2 separate regions of the Homo sapiens genome follow, and region 1 is linked to region 2. Evidence: promoter capture Hi-C in 16 types of primary human blood cells and fetal thymus (Javierre and others, 2016). All regions are on one chromosome and are shown on one strand. Each heading gives the region's core, a stretch centred on a gene start or on the middle of the fragment in contact. The rest is flanking DNA. Distances are from core to core; before and after follow the strand shown.

The links. Contacts are between HindIII fragments. The CHiCAGO score rates a contact against its expected background, and 5 or more counts as called.
Region 1: a contact is called between a fragment that was not itself captured here and the fragment with the promoter of HIGD1A in region 2, in 1 of 17 cell types (neutrophils). The highest score is 6.2, in neutrophils.

Annotation. Positions count from the first base shown.
Region 1 is chr3:43,703,825-43,707,225 of GRCh38, forward strand. The region is part of intron 3 of ABHD5 (abhydrolase domain containing 5, lysophosphatidic acid acyltransferase); the gene reads left to right. Among named protein-coding and RNA genes, the nearest start is that of ABHD5, 15 kb to the left of the region's middle. The HindIII fragment of the contact is 1,199 bases long and covers 1,136-2,334 here.
Region 2 is chr3:42,803,206-42,806,286 of GRCh38, forward strand. HIGD1A (HIG1 hypoxia inducible domain family member 1A) reads right to left here and starts at 1,285. Exons shown (of 4, transcript NM_014056.4): 1 at 1,231-1,285. RefSeq lists a silencer at 1,241-1,460 and an enhancer at 2,322-3,081. The HindIII fragment of the contact is 3,515 bases long and covers 973-3,081 here.

The DNA.
Region 1 (3,401 bases), core at 485-2,984, 900 kb after region 2:
TGTACCTGAGGTTCTCTTCCTCTGGAACAGCCACTTTTTCTCTATAGACTCTTTATCTAAACTTTAGCATTTACACCTGATTTTTCTGATCTCATGGTCCTATATGTGCTAGACAATAATAGTCCTGTCAACTGGCGGACCTGTTCTTTAAAAAGAAATGCAAATTTTCTTCTCCTGGTTGGCATTTTGGGGTTACTTTCTTTATTTTCTTTTTTTTTTTTTTTTTTTTTTGAGCCGGAGTCTCACTCGGTCGCCCAGGCTGGAGTGCAGTGGCGCGGTATCTCGGCTCACCGCAACCTCCGTCTCCCAGGTTCAAGCAATTCTCCTGCCTCAGCCTCCCGAGTAGTTGGGATTACAGGAGCCCGCCACCACACTGGCTAATTTTTGTATTTTTAGTAGAGACAGGGTTTCACCATGTTGGCCAGGCTGGTCTCAAACTCTTGACCTCAGGAGATCCGCCTGCCTTGGCCTCCCAAAGTGTTGGGATTACAGGCATGAGCCACCGCACCCGCTGGTGTTACTTTCTTTTATTGTGTCCTACTCTTAGTGACAAACACCTATTTGCATTTATGGTGAAAGGAGAAGGAAGTAGATGCTTTTCTGGTACAAGTCAACAGGGCTATTTGTGGGAGTTGAACTTCCTTTGTTTTTTATCAGGTATGTATTATGTCTGTGTCTGTCTTGTGGTATTTATTCTCTGAAGATGTGACATGGAACTCTGCAGGCTAGACCTTGGTCATTAAACCCTAAGTCTTAGAATCCTGACCCTTCATAGCTCTCTACTGATAAGGTCAGTTGGCAAGAGTTTCATTTGCAATTGTGAACTGCTCTAAAGAAATAGGGGGCTTCAGGGATTCAGAAGGGAATCAACACTTTAAAAACATTATAAAAGAGAATAGCAAAAGGTATCTAAAAACAAAGCTAGTGATTCCTGCATTGGACTAATAATATTTTAGAAAATGGTTTTTGAATGTTTGTGTCTAATGCTAGAAATAAAACTAGAGTACTGTCTCAGGACCAAGAATCATAAGTAGTAGCAGTAGATGGATATGAGAATGCTTGAAATAATTAGCCTGTCTAAATTTGGCTGGTTGCCAACAAAATTTTGAACTGTACAGAGTGTATTGAATATTCAAGCTTATATTCTTAACTGCATAAAACTTAAATTATTAAATACAGGTTAATTTCAAAATAATGATGTTTTCTGGATTTTCAGATATCTCAAATCATGATTATGTCCAGTCAGTCAGAACACCATGGTTGGCACATAGTGGCTGCCTAGTAAATATTTCTTGAATAGGTGATTTTGAAAAAGAGAATTATAAGCTAAGTTCACCTTTTAGCTAACAATTTTATGTTCTTTTCTCTGTTCTTCTCTTTGCATTTTGCATAGAAGTATCAAGAGATAAGAGCTGGTCATGTCATATCTTTCTAATTTATTTTTGGGAGAAAAATTAGTTTCAGATATGCAAGCATAAGCAGGCAAAGATTTCAGTTTTATGCCTTTTGCCCAGTTAGTCTACATCTTGAGTTAGTATAGCATAAAAACAAGTTACCGTGGAAATAAAGAGATCATTCTGTGTGTATGTGTGAGAGAAAGGTATTAGTGAGAATGTTTCTTCTAACATTTACACACACACACGTATATACATAACATACATGAATATTTTACAGAATTAAGCAAATTGACCAGCCATTTAAACCAACAACTTTAGTTAGTTTAGAAGTGTGTTAAATCTACTAAATAAAAGTAAAATTTTATAGTTTACTTTTTCCCTGTTCTAATAGACCAGATAATACCCCATTGTAGCATATAATATAGGAAGACTGGAATTAACAATCTCACGGGCTTCCCCTTCTCCCTAGCTTTTTTCCTTCATTGCTTTTCAGGATGGCTTCCCTGGAAGCACTTCTCTTTAAATGGAGAGGACAGGGAAAAATGAGTATCTCTTGTCTTTTCTGCAAGGTGCATCGTCTCCTTTGGTGCCCTTTGGTCTTGCTGTCCACGTTTATTTATATTACTAATAATGTTGCTCATATTTGTTAACTTTTTATTAAAAAGAATTTTTTTCTGCTTGGTCCTGGTTGGGCAAATTTGTACAAATTTACATAGATGATCTGATAGTTAATATAGTTCGATAGACTCACAGATCCAAACATTAAACAGGATTAAACAGGACTGAGTACTGTTAAGTGTTCACCATTATAGCAAACCTCATATTAAGTTATGTTTAGTGTTTGGTGTGTCTTGAAGTTGGCATTCCCACTAAGCAGATGGGGTGGTTGTCAGGGTTGCCTTCTGTGTGATGTGGAATGTTTCACCTAAGCTGGAGAAGCTTCTTTGCAGCACACACACGTTTTCTCTGGTGCAATAGAGCAGTCCGCTTGGTATCAACAAACAGGTACTGAACTACATACTCGTGCTCATCCAGCTTGCTTTTGATCCAGTAGCATTTTTATTATGCTGTCATGATATTCAAATGAATCTTTGAGTTTCAGAAAGACTTTTGGTGGGCGTGGGGGGAGCGGTAAGAGGAGGGAAAAAGTGGTCTGGAGATCAAATGAAATTCAGATCTTTTCTTACACTCACTGTGCCTCTTTTGTCTCTCTCTCTTTTTTCGATAATGGACTTTGAGAATGTTACCTTTTTTTTTTTTCTTAGAGATGGGGTCTTACTCTGTTGCACAGTTTGGAGTGCAGTGGCGCAATCATAGCTCACTGCAGCCTTGACCTCTTACACTCAACAAACCTCCCGTGTAGCTAGTACTACAGGTGTGCCACCATGCCTGGGTAATTTTTAAAGTTTTGTGTAGAGATGGGGGTTTCACTTTGTTGCCCAGGCCAATGTCAAACTCCTGGCCTCGAATGATCCTCCTGCCTCCAAAACTGCCGGGATTACAGGCATGAGACACCGTGCTCAGCTGATAATGTTATTTTATTCTTTGCTTCCTCAGGTGTTGCAAATATAATCTTTATTTTTTTCTTTTAAGTAAAATGACAGCTCCTTACTTTCCGTTTTATGCATGGAGGGAAAAAACACAAAAACAACGTTGTTTTATTTGTTGGGACTTAGTGTTCCAAGCCATAACTACTTCAGTCCTTGTCTTTTATGGGCAGCTCCATTCTTCCATTCGTTACTTTTATAGGACAGTTTGAAGAGAAGAATGAAAAGGCCTAGTTTAATGCACTTGTTTAAGAAGGATTCTTACTCTAAAGAACAAATAAAAGCTGATCAATTTTTGCCAACTTTTGGATTACAGGCGTGAGCCACTGCACCTGGCCCGGTTTTTTCTTTTAATTTTCCTTTCCTTCTGGCCCCTGCTGCTCAGTACCCCATTAAAAAAACTATCTGTATTTTAAAGATATTTGTTATAAACTACGGAAAAGGAGATTATAGAAAC
Region 2 (3,081 bases), core at 35-2,534:
GCTTAGTAAGACACGACTGAAGACCTTTCCACAGGGAACCTAAAGAGGCATTAAGGGAAGATGAGCCGTCCAGCATCAGGAGACGTAACAGGTTGAATGAAGGATCTTTCTTCACAGTCATTTTGTCACGGGAATTACTATCTAAAGCAACGCTGGCTTCAAACTGATTTTGCATCAGTCGCCCATCAGCTTGTTTAAAATGGCTGCCAAGGCCCCAGCATGGAGATCCGGATTCAGGTGGTCTGGGGCAGAGCTCAAGGAATCTTTAAGAAGCCCCTTCAAGTGACTCTGGTGCACAAAGAGAACTCCTAGTATACAGGACTCCAAATATGTGTGTCATGCTGGAGCTTCATGACCAGGTTGTCACCGCTTCAACCTGTTAGAACTTTCCATCCAAACCTGTCTTACTCCAAAGTGCCTTTGTACTTCCGGAAGCAGGGATCCCTGTCGTGGGGATTACTCCGAAGAGGGAAATAGCTGCTTCCCACTCCGGGAATTTAAGACAAAGGCGAATATCACTGCTGCATCATGTCGGCTGCTCCTAATTCTGCCCTTACGCTGTGCTTTGTAATCTCTAACCCGCCGACTCGGCAGGAGAAAAATTTAATTCGGTCACAGAAGCACTACACAGGACCCTAGGCCTTATCACTTTCCCAGGGTGGAGGAAACACCAGGTCGGGGAGAAAAGCAAGACCAGGACTGGAAGGTCCTCTGCTAGTACGCCCTCCCCTCAACCTCCCGACCTTCCTCGCCGCCTCTCTTCCTGTGACCTTGTCGTGACTCCGTGACCGGAGCGCTCGCTCTCCTATCCCGCCTCGCCTGCCGCTTAGCCCGCTCTTCAGAATGTTCCAAGCTCCGGGGAAGCTCCCGCTCCTCGCTCCCCGCCGTCGGGCCCAGTCAACACCCTCCTGGCCCCCGTCTCTCATTACCACCCCATCAGCGAGTCTTCCCCGCTCGGCAACTCACTCCACAAGCTTCTGCTCCATCTCCTCGCTGGCTCCGTCTCCCCTCACCCGAAGGACCCTAGGCCTCGGCTCCCGACTCCTCTCATCCGCCCATGCTCGAGGCCGGGCCTGAGCCCCGGCAACTCCACCTCTCCTCCCTCATTCGAGACACGGACTCCCAGCCCCCACCCCCAAAGTCCTTTCGGCCTGGCCAAGCGCTGCCCCACTTCTTCCCGCCCCGCGGCCCGAGTCCCTGGCTCGCAGTCCCCCGGCTTGTTTCGCTTACCTAGAGCGAGAAAACCTCTCACACCCCAACCGGCTTCCGATCCCTGCAGGCGCACCCAGTCCTCCCGGCTTCTCCCCACCCACAGCCGTCCCAGCCAATCAGAGGCCAGCGGCCGCAAAAGGACGCGTGCGTGTGCGCGGCGGGTGGGGCAGTGCAGAGCGGGTCCTGGATTGGCTGGGCCGGTGAGTGCTGGCCCACTACCCCGGCTCTAGCGTACTGGCGGAGACAGACGTGAGAGCTCGGCGCCTGGGGTTCGCGCCCGGGCACTTGAGGGGCTTTGGCTCCTGGCCCAAGGACTCCTCAGATTTCTCCTGCCCTTTTCCCCTCGGGCAGCGGAGGCGAGCACCGCGAACGCCGTGTCCCGAGCGCCGCCGCCTGCGGACGCCTCACGGGCCGGGAAGGGATGCGGGTGAGGGGTTTCGGCTGCGGGTGAGGTTGTGTTCCCCGACCCACCCGGGTCCGACTGCTTGTTCTCGCCGTTCAGTAACGAGATGCAGACAGACTGGGAAAGAACGGAGTTTATTTCTGCAACAGGTTACAGGGAGAAGGTCGGAGTAACTCACCAGACCAACTCAAAATTATTAATACAAGTTTTTCTAGTGCTTAAATACATTCAGTGCATTTACAAGTCGAAAGCCAAAGTGTTTCACTCAAGCCAATCTTTAACGGTAATAGGGTCAGGTGTCTAGACAATTGCTTCAGAGCCTTGGAAATAATCTAAAGTGGGTCCTGGTACAAGGTGTGCAAGAACAACTCCATTATTTTAATTAAACTCTAGGGGTTGAAAAAGCTCAGGCGGGATCCTAATGGACTTGTCTTTACATTCTAGCCTTTCTCCTAAGGCACCAGTTTCTCCAATGTTTAACTTATACATGCATCAGAATGACAGTGAGGCGTTGGTGAGAGCTGCTCTGGTTGCTAATGGAGATCTGGCCTGCCACAGTGGGAGCAGAGCTTGCCCAGTGCGCCGGGACGACTGCGGGCTCCATCCATTCCGCTCCCAGGGCGGTTGTCGGCCAGGACCGTGAGCTGTCAGGTCCCCCGCGGGATCCTTCCTGGAGCTTACACTATAGTAGGAGGCAGCCAGTACTTGCAAGCACGGGGTCGCGGGAACTACGACCTCACCCAGGCCAGGCGACCTTTCTCTCAAGAAGGAGATGTCAGAGGCCCCTCGTGACAGCGAGCTTCCGGGGACAGGGCTCCTAATGTGTTTGTCAAGTAAATAATGAGTAATAATCCGGCCAATTGGTGGGTCAACGAAAAAAGTCAAACTCTAAGATATTTGAAGAGATTTATTCTGAACCAAATGTGAGTGACCGTGGCCCCTGACACAGCCCTCAGGAGGTCCTGAGAACATGTGCCCAAGGTGGTCCAGGCACACTTGGTTTTATACATTTTAGAGAGGCATGAGACATCAATCAAATACATTTAAGAAATACATTGGTTTGGTCCAGAAACGGGGGACAACTCAAAGGCGAGAGGGGAGGGGGCTTCCAGGCTATAGGTAAATTTAAACATTTTCTGGTTGATAATTGGTTGAGTTTGTCTGAAGACCTGGGATCAACAGAAAGGGAATGTTCAAGTTAAGATAAAAGATTGTGGAGACCAAGGTTCTTTTGAAGTCTTGTAGTGGCTGCCTTTAGAGACAATAGATGACAAATGTTTCCTATTCAGATGTTTGAAAGGTGCTAGACTTTTAATCTCTTTAGGATTGGGGGGCCTGGAAGAAAAAGATCTAGCTATGTTATAGGGATTCTTTACAGATGAGAATTTTTCCCCGCAAAGGACAGCTTTGTATGGCCATTTCAAGATATGGCAAAGAAATATGTTTTGGGGTAAAATATTTTTATT